Linked DNA regions of Homo sapiens: region 2 is linked to region 1. Evidence: promoter capture Hi-C in human tissues and cell types (Jung and others, 2019). All regions are on one chromosome and are shown on one strand. Each heading gives the region's core, a stretch centred on a gene start or on the middle of the fragment in contact. The rest is flanking DNA. Distances are from core to core; before and after follow the strand shown.

Region 1 (4,883 bases), core at 935-3,434:
GTAAAACATTTTAAGTTGAGAAAACTCGTGAAAAATGTAAAAGTAGCAAACTTCTCTTCCTCTCTATAGCACAGAAAACTATTCACTAACACTGTATCAATAATATCCTTTAAATCCAAAGCATTACAAATTAGATTAAATAAAGCACTTTGAATAAATTCACACACCGTGTGTGATCAGGACATAATGACAAACTAGTCTATTTCCTAATAAGCTAAACAGATCTCAACACTATCATCTTTATTTCAAAATAATTATTAAAGAGAAAAGTACTACTCCATTTTTCAGAAAATAAAAGCAGGAGTGATTGACCTGCCTAATTCTTTCTAACGGAAAGGGTATACTTTACGAGTCCCACAAACCAGGTACACACAAAATCCATATACATAATCACCGGGACTAAACGTACAGTAGGTGATAGACACCAAAACACAAATAAAATTAAGACATCCAAGTAAAGTTACGCAAGAAAATTTGAATAGGCAAACTATAATTATCCCTGGTGAAGATACTGATCAAGAATAGCTGCAAGTAACATTTGGCTCTTAGTTAAGTACCACTATGTTTGAGTATGTTGGAGCAACTGAAAAGATTGGTACATTCAACATATTTTTCCTTTCTAAATCTAGCCCTGCCCATAGACCCACTGACTGAGTGATACATTTGGAAAACAAAGATGGCCCCATCAAATTACTCAGTTTCAGCCTTACTCTTACCAGTTGATTAAAATAAAGAAGGAAAAAAAGGAAATCATTTTTAACTGCAGTCTCACCTTACACATCTCACCAGCACTGTAGTTCATTAGTGATCCATTACTTCATCCAAATCCTGAGGCAAATAGAAAAGATGTTTCCATACAACACCAGTAACAGACATTATCAGTAGCAAACATTTTATCAGCCTGAAGTGAAAGGGCATCTACATTTAAAATGGAAAAAGTTACAAAAATGGTACAGTGTGCAGCTTTGCAAATGAGTCTGGTTTTTGACCTTAAAACATTTCCTTTCAGTAAGGTAAAAGAATAGATTATACAATGCTCTTAAAACTCAAAAACATAATAAAATCATCTTTTTCAACACAGACTGACCTTACTTTCAAAAACATAAAGAAATGAAGGAGAGGAAATTTCATTAATATGAGTTTAAGAGAGAGCAAAATTAAGAACAAACTAGGCAAGACAGACAACTCCTCCCTCCTTCCCCCGCTCCAGGAATCCACTGTCTCTGAAGTTACACTTTTTATTATATTAATGATTTGCCTGAGAAGTGTTAAGTTGTGAGGGAGAAGGAATGACAATTTTTGAACTGCAAACAAAACCTGAGGATCCCGATCCAAGAACAATCAGAGGACCCTGGCTTCCAGCCCTGTCTGAAGATTTCTCAGCAAAGGCGAGGGTGCAGAAGGCTCCAATAATTTAGGGGAGAGGAATCGAAGTTCCCTAGGTAAGACTGCAGTCTGTGAGCCCTTGAAAAGGGTACTGGAGTACTCTCAAGGAATCTCCAGGAAAAGAGAGCCTATCTTTATTTTTGTTGATGTGCTTGTGGGCCAAAGAGCATTTCCGAGGAGGGGGCGGGGAAAGGGGGGAAGAAAGTGAATCTCGGGCCGAGAGCCCTCCGCGGGGGAGGGAGGGGGCGCACGCCTGACCCACTTTTCCCCACGCCCCCGCTCCAGCCCCCACCCCACCCGGTGGAAGTCCGAGGCCTGAGGGGGGGCATCGAGCGGGGCGTGGGAGGCCCGCACGCTCCCCACCCCCAGCCGCGACCCGGAGGAGGGGAACGTGCCGGGAGGCTCGAGTCCCCCTCCCAGAGTGCTCTGGGCCGGAGAAACCTCCCGCAGGCTCCCGGGCCAGGCGTGCAAGGCCCCCTCTCCTGCCAGGGCCCAGGACGCTGCGGGCCCCAGCGGAGGGGAAGGGGACTAAGTAGGGGAAGAAGCTGTAAACAGCCCCAGCGTCCGGGCCTCGCCTCGAAGAGCCGCGCTTCCCAGGCCCAGCCGCGGGCCGCCCAGGCCCCCAGCCTGCCCCGGGGCCGCCGCGCCCGGGGTCCGGGACACCGGAGGGGAGTCGGGTCCCCTCCCCGGAGAGCTCCGGGAGCTCGCGGAGCGGCCCCAGGAGCAGAGAAGGGGGAAGTCAGGACTTACCTGTCATTACTTTCTACGCCATCTTGGATCCACTTGTCAACGTCCCCACAAAGCATTATGGGTAAGAAAGAGCCTTTAAAGTGACTCCCCCCGGCCCCCGACTCCCGCCTCCCGCCGCCGGCGCCGCCCCCTCCGGCCGCGCCTCCCGCCCGGAAAGTTGCCCCGGGTGGACTGCCGACCCCGGCGCCCGCAGCTGGCCCCTTCCCCTCCCCCGGGCTGACGGCATTGAAAATTCACCCGCATTTTTAAAACGTGGCTTTGGGGTTTTCTCCCTTTCTCCTGCCCCGGCCTCCCTGCCCCCACGCCCGGTCCTCTCGCCTCGCCGCGTTCCTGCCCGGGCAGACGCCCCGCGTCTGCATTGAATCAACCCGAGGTTTCCTTGCCGCCCGCGGCGCGGCGCGGAGCTGCTCGCGGATTTATTTGTGCGCGTGGATGTGAGCGTTTCTGCTCCTGCGGCCGCGCTTCCAGGAAGCCCGCGAGCGGCCGGGGTCGCCTTCAGAGGCCGCGCAGACCAGCTCCGCACCCGCCGCCCGGAGAGGTGCCTCTGCCCTGGGAAACCGCCCCGGGGCCGTTGGGCTCCGGGAACTGGGAGGACGCCGTGTCCCCGAGTCCACCAGCGTCGAAGCACGATTTAAAAAAAAAAATTGAGCCAAATGCAACTTTTTACCCCTTGTTTACTCTGTGTCCCGCGGTCTCCTCCTCCGGGCGGGTAACGTGATCCGCGACCCTCTAGGTGGGGACCCCTCCCCTAGGAATGTGGCTCCAGGCTCCGCGGAGCCACCCTGGGAGCGTCCGGGCTGCGGACTGTGACTCCGGGGCAGGTAATCCGGGGCGCCGGCTGCGGGCTCCGGGCGGGGCGGGGCGCGGAGGCAGCCAGGGCTCGGGGGAGGGTCCCGGGCGGAAAGCAGGGTGCGCCAGTCCGGGTCCACCTGGCGGGTCGGGGGAGAACCGCGGGCGCCGCTGCAGCTCGGGAGGCTGGAGGTGGGGACGCCCGGCGTCTCCGGGCTGCGACCCGCTGCGCTGGAAAGTGTGGGGCGCCTTGGCGCGGGCTGAGGTCTCTGACCCGGGCGAGTACCCCCAGCCCGCCGGCCACACTGCTGCCGGGCATCCTCTCCCCGCGACACCACGCCCGCTTTCGGCTGCGCGGGGCGAGCAGCGTACTGACCCCGGCGTCCAGCCGCCCAGGTCCCCCCAGCAACGGAGGCCCCTTGGTCAGCCTCCTCCCGCGCTCTCCGCAGAGCCTCTGGTCCCTGCTTTGCTGTCTTTGGAGGCCTGCTCCAGTTGCTTTTTTTTTTTTCCAAGCAAGTTTTTACAACAAGGAGATACCCAAAAGAAAATTCTCCAAGACAGGAATGCTTGCGAATTGTATTCGGTACAAAATGCTGTTGAACGGCTCTACCTTTAGAAGACCGCAGAAGCACTGGCATTAAAACCCTCTTTCGGTGCACGGGGAGGGCCTGGGGCCTTGGATCTACCCGAGGATTTTACGCTCCTCCAGACCCTATCAACAGCCTCACTAGGAACGTGAACGGTGGCAGACAGGAGCCCTGCCCCTGGGGAGCCAAAAACTCCACCAGGCAATTGTCCCGGTCTGATGAGAAGGTGTAGACACATTAAGGGATTGGCCCCGGGTCACTCGTGAAGGAGGGAACGAGGTAGTGAGTCATTCCCAGCCAAGAACGCAGCGTGCTGGGGAGCAACCTCCCCTGAGTCACCTGCTTCTCACCTCGGAATAAGTGGAGAAACTGGAGCCTGGAGCCAGGTTCTTAGACGGCCCAGCAAGGTAGCCACCAAGGGCATGGGCTAGGCTGGGGGGAGGCAGCGCCCCTCCTGCTGGAAAAGGGAATGCTTGGCCCGTCTGAAGAAGGCTCCAATGTCTCTTTCCAGGGTACCCCAGGTGCTTCTTTTCCAATTCCTCTTTTGCACTTATTTAGCCACTGGTATGCACTGGCTTAATGGTGGTTTTGTTTGCATGGCACCTTTAGGTATGTGGTCTGAGTTTATGCAAAAGTAATGACAAAAGCCGCAGTGACTTTTGCACCCACCTAATATAAGTAAACAGGAAATAAGTTGAGGGCAAGGACTGTGTCTCCCAAACACGTTTCTTTGATAAGCAGCCTTTCTTTGCCTTGTATAGGCATTGACCCAAATAAGTGTTCAGTTTGTGTGACTGCCCAACCCATTCACTGCCTCCAGTGTGTGCATCCAAGCCCAACCTTGTCAAATACACCGCCTGTTGCCTGAGCTGGGACGGCCTGCCGACTCTTCTCCCTGCCCCTCCTGGATACCTACAATGCATCCTCCACCTGACCAACCCTGTGATATTTTATGAATGTAAATCAGATCGAGACTTCTCTGCTGAAACCTTGGAATAAAACCCAGATTCCCAACCCTGGCCTACAAGCTCCTGTGTGAGGTGGTCCCACCTTCCCTCACCAGCAGTGGTCCAGGCTGGCCTTCTCTCTTTCCCTGCAGCGCCCCAAGCTTCCTTCCAGTGAGAACCCTATTCCCCCAGATCTTCTGATTATCTTTTCTTTGACAGAGTCTTGTTCTGTCGACCAGGCTAGAGTGCAGTAGCGCGATCTCAATTCACTGCAACCTCCGCCTTCTAGGTTCAAGCTGTTCTCTGCCTCAACCTCCTGAGTAGCTGGGATTACAGGCGTCCGCCACCGCGCCCGGCTCATTTTTGTATTTTTAGTAGAGACAGGGTTTCACCATCTTGGCCAGGGTGATCTTGAACTACTGAC
Region 2 (4,883 bases), core at 975-3,474, 600 kb after region 1:
GGGGAAAAAACTAAAGAGGTATATGAAAGCTATTTTTATCTTTCAAAGGCTAAAAGACATTAAATGAGTTCTTAAACTTTTTCGAAGCCAAAATTTTTCTTTATCCTGTTTTGCTACTGAAGCAAAATTTTTTCTTGAATATAGGGTAACATTCACTAGTGGTTGATGAACCATTGTATTTAGTGGCAATCTTCTGTAAATAAATCTTTCAAATATAAAAGAAGTTATCCCATTAAAATAATTATAAAATAGTCCAAACATTCAGAAAAGTTTTAAAAATATAGGCTGGGCATGGTGGCTCACACCTGTAATTCCCACACTTTGGGAGGTTGAGGTAGGAGGATCACTTGGGCCCAGCAGTTTTAGAGCAGCCTGGGCAGCATAGAGGATACTGAATGTATTTTAGCTTTGTGTTGACAACCCAGTGGGTTATTTGAACTTCACTTATTGTGTGGTAGTCCCTAGATGTATCTCTAGACCAGGGCTGTCCAATAGAACTTTTTGTGATGATGGAAATATTCTGTATGTGTACTGTCCTGTATGGTAGCCACGAGACACATGGCTATTAAGTAAGCACCTGAAATTTTTGTTCAGGTCTCATACTTTATAACATTGTCACTTCACTGATTTGTCTCCTTTATCTGTCATTTCTCCCACCTGCACAATAGGCACTTGTTATTTCTCAAATTCCCTTTCACTGAGAGGTCAAGTCAGGTGGTTTTTAACAATATGGGAGGAAGTCTAATATAGTAGTAAAGACCATAGCTTAGGACTTGTGTGGGTTTGTTTGTTTGTTTGGAGACAGGGTCCCTGTCGCCTAGGGTGGAGTGCGGTGGTACAGTCTGGGCTCACTGCAACCTCTGCCCTTTGGGTTCAAGCAATTCTAGTGCCTCAGCTTCTGGAGTAGCTGGGATTACAGGCACACGTCACCACACCCAGCTAATTTTTGTTATTTTAGTAGAGACAGGGTTTCGCCATGTTGGCCAGGCTGGTCCTAAACTCCGGACCTCAAGTGATCCACCCGCCTTGGCCTCCCAAAGTGCTGGAATTACAGGCATGAGCCACCAAGCCCAGCTGGACTTGTGGGTTTGTTGTTGTTTTTTTGTTTTATTTGGGACCTGTGTTGGTTGTAACTCTTAGTGGTACTGGCTGTGACCTTGGACAAGTCATTTAGCCTCTCTATAAACATCTTTGAAAGGAAGTAATAATGGTATCTATTTTATGGAGTTGATCTGAGGATAAAAATAAGATAATGCACTTTAAAATGCTTACTTAGCACAATGTCTGGCAAATAGAAAGCACTCTCTAGGCCAGGCGTGTTAGCTCACACCTGTAATCCCAGCACTTTGGGAAGCCGAGGTGGGTGGATCACCTGAGGTCAGGAGTTCGAGACCAGCCTGGCCAACATGGTGAAACCCCATCTCTACTAAAAATAATAAATTAGCCGGGCGTGGTGGCACATGCCTGTAATTCCAGCTACTCGGGAGGCTGAGGCAGAAGAATAGCGTGAACCGGGGAGGCAGAGCTTGCAGTGAGCAGAGGTCGCGCCACTGCACTCCAGCGTGGGTGACAGGGTGAGACTCCGTCTAAAAAAAAAAAAAAATTATCCGGGTGTGGTGGTGGGCACCTGTAATCCCAGTTGTTTGGGAGTGAGGCAGGAGAATGGCTTGAACCCAGGAGGCAGAGCTTGCAGTGAGCCTAGATTGCGCCACTGCACTCCAGCCTGGGCGACAGAGCCAGACTCCGTCTCAAAAAAAAAAAAAAAAAGAAAAAAGAAAGCACTCTATAAAAGCTAGCTGCTGATTTTTATATTATTACTGACACAGAAGATAGGGATTGGGGGCAAATGGAATGTACTGGAAGAGCATAACCTTGTTCAGTAATAACGTTAATGCTAGATTGGGACACTATTCCACATGAAAAGGTGAATCCTTGTTACATTTGACAACTAAGTTTCATAATTTTTAAAAGATTTCAATGCATCACAGGTTATTTCTTCTTGATGTGCCATTCATGGTTTATATATATGTAACAGTAGATTAAATAATTAGATTTTATTAGTTCTGGAGTATTAACTTCGGCTGGAAATGAACTTCCCCCTTCTCTATACCAATACCGAGTGAGGCCACTTTCTCTCAGATACCAATCAGAAATAAGGGGACAATGTTACATTTTTTCCTTCTAGAAACACACATTATATAGAGAGTTGCCTTTTGAGGTCTAGAAGTCTGAAAACACTGTAAATTCTTTTTTTTTTTTGAATTAGTACAATAAATGTAGGGGTCAACTCTAAAAAATCGACAGTGGTTTCTGGGATTTGATCTTGGCATGACTTTACCCCTGCATCTCTGCCCTCGGCAGGTAGTTTTGTTTATGGGTGTCATTGGTTGAACAAATATTTTTTTAGTTGCTACAATAACTAAAACATGATCTGTCCTCTAAAGGAGTCAACAAATGAGCCAGGGGGCATGAGTAATTGCCTGTAATATAATTGTGCTCACGCTGTCATGGAGGACCGTACAAAGTGTCAGAAGCACAGCACCTGGAGGCACAGCAAAGGGTAGTAGAGGTGACATTTGAGCCCGGCCTTGAAAACTGTCTAGGGTTTCTCAGAATTTCAGCAAAGTAAGGCAATTTCTGTCTAAAATATGTAGGCAAACTTTTTTTTAAAATTAAAAATATGAGAAATTAATTAACAGATTATGACTACAGTGCGTATTTAAAAACCAAGGCATGATGAGTGCTGTTGACCAGTTCATCCGAACAGTTCAGAGAAGAGAACATCCATGTAGATCCCTTTTGTGTTACAGAATACAAAGGAGCAGAAAATTTTGTCTCAATAACTGCCAGGTCATTCTAATTAGAATACCTATACATTGTAACATAATTACTCCGTCGAGGTAATAAGCTATCAGGTGGTCCAGAGTTTGCCATTCAGTCAGGAAATTCACTCCCTTAACCTAGACTGTGCTGGAAATTCATTGACAAATTTTGTTCTTTGATTCTCCATTTTTCTTCAGAATTCATGCAGACCACTTGACTTCCTTAGCAGTTTCTTTTGTGGGCGTACATTAATGTCTTTGGTTAAGCTTCAGCTTCCCTTTGCATCAATCCTGTTGTAATCGTGCCTCCTGAGGCATCTTTTTGCTTCCCTTGCATGAGTTTCCAAAACCCTTTCTGCTTGGTAAGGGGAGTATCCATTTTCTTTAAAGTAGTGGTTTTCAAACTTGCCGCACATCAGAATCATTTGGGGAGAAGGATAAAAATATAGATTACTGAGCTTCACCTGGGGTTCTGTGAATTTGGGTTGCATTTGAGATTACTTTTAACAATTTACCAGATGATTTTTGCTGCACCTCCATTTCAGGGCAGCTTTTCAAACTTCAGTGACCATATAAATCACCTGAAGATCGTGAGAAACTGCAGATCCTAATTTAGTAGGCCTGGGCTTGGGCCTGAGATTCTGAATTTCTCTCAAACATGATAATGCCAGTCACTTGTCGAGTAGCAAGTTTTTTGTTTTTTATTTTTTGTTTGTTTTTCCAGTATTTTCATGACATTCAATGAATAGCAAGGTTTGAAGGTAACTTCTGGAATTTCATCTAATGTGTATTAATTTTTACTTATCTGGATCTTAGGGAAAATAACCTATCAGGATATAGGGAGGTGTTTCTCAGAGTATGGTTCGCCAGAACAGCACAACCTGGGAATTGTTAGAAATGCAAGTTCTCGGCTGGGCGTGGTGGCTCACACCTGTAATCCCATAACTTTGGGAGGCTAAGGCGGGTGGATCACTTGAGGTGAGGGGTTTGAGACCAGCCTGGCCAACATGGGGAAACCCCTTCTATACTAAAAATACAAAAAAAATTAGCCGGGCATGGTGGTGGGCACCTGTAGTCCCAGCTACTCGGGAGGCTGAGGCAGGAGAATCACTTGAACCTAGGTGACAGACGTTGCAGTGAGCTGAGATCGTGCCACTGCACTCCAGCCTGGGCAACAGAGCAAGACTCCATCTCAGAAAAAAAAAAATTCAGGTTCTCAGACTCTATTCTAGGCCTATTGAATCAGTGACATATGCACTCTGAAGTTTGAGAACCACTGTTTTAAGGCTTCTCACTGTAGTCCTGTATTTACTTACGTAGAAATCAAAACACATTTCTAATGTTGTCAGATAATGCAAGGATATCATTTTCTTGTGTAAGTGCATGGGCTAGCACTTTCAAAACTACTAATTCTTGTAATAAATGTTTATTTAATAGCTTATTATATGCTAGCCACTACTTAACATTGGCAAACTTAAAAAATCCCTGTCGTTAAGGAGATTATATTCTAGTGGTGATATTAACTACTAGTTCATGTATGTATTCATCCGTAAGTAGTATATAAACTGTATTTCCATGGTTTTATATTGTAAAACTTAACTTTTCTTTTGCCTCATGGTGTTTTTGTTTGTTTGTTTGTTTTCTGAGACAGAGTCTCGCTCTGTTGCCTAGGCTGGCAGTAGCATGATCTCGGCTCACTGCAACCTCCGTCTCCTGGGTTCAAGCGGTTCTTCTGCCTCAGCCTCCCAAGTAGCTGGGAGTACAGGTGTGTGCCACCATGCCCAGCTAATTTTTGTATTTTTCTTAGAGACGGGGTTTCACCATATTGGCCAGGCTAGTCCGGAACTCCTGACCTCGTGATCTGCCCACCTTGGACTCCCAAAGTGCTAGGATTACGGGCATGAGCCACTGTACCTGGCCCTGTGTTTTTGTTTTTAAGATTGATCCATGTTGATATGCATAGCCCTAAATTACTCAAAATTGATCTACAGAATTCTATCCAATGAATAAGCCACAATTTGACTGTTTTCCTGTTGATGGACATTTTGGTTGTTTTCAGCT

Evidence for each region. Contacts are between HindIII fragments. The study calls those that stand out against the background at their distance.
Region 2: a fragment that was not itself captured here is called in contact with the fragment with the promoter of HELZ in region 1 in 1 of the 25 tissues and cell types used here (heart left ventricle).

What each region holds. Positions count from the first base shown.
Region 1 is chr17:67,243,012-67,247,894 of GRCh38, forward strand. HELZ (helicase with zinc finger) reads right to left here and starts at 2,185. Exons shown (of 33, transcript NM_014877.4): 1 at 2,137-2,185; 2 at 773-828. HELZ-AS1 (HELZ antisense RNA 1) reads left to right here and starts at 1,765. Exons shown (of 4, transcript NR_136398.1): 1 at 1,765-2,197. RefSeq lists enhancers at 1,409-2,396, 2,397-3,383 and silencers at 1,713-1,762, 1,863-2,352, 2,903-2,992, 3,003-3,202. The HindIII fragment of the contact is 25,130 bases long and covers 1-4,883 here.
Region 2 is chr17:67,845,925-67,850,807 of GRCh38, forward strand. All of the region lies in intron 1 of BPTF (bromodomain PHD finger transcription factor), which reads left to right. Among named protein-coding and RNA genes, the nearest start is that of BPTF, 23 kb to the left of the region's middle. The HindIII fragment of the contact is 3,640 bases long and covers 405-4,044 here.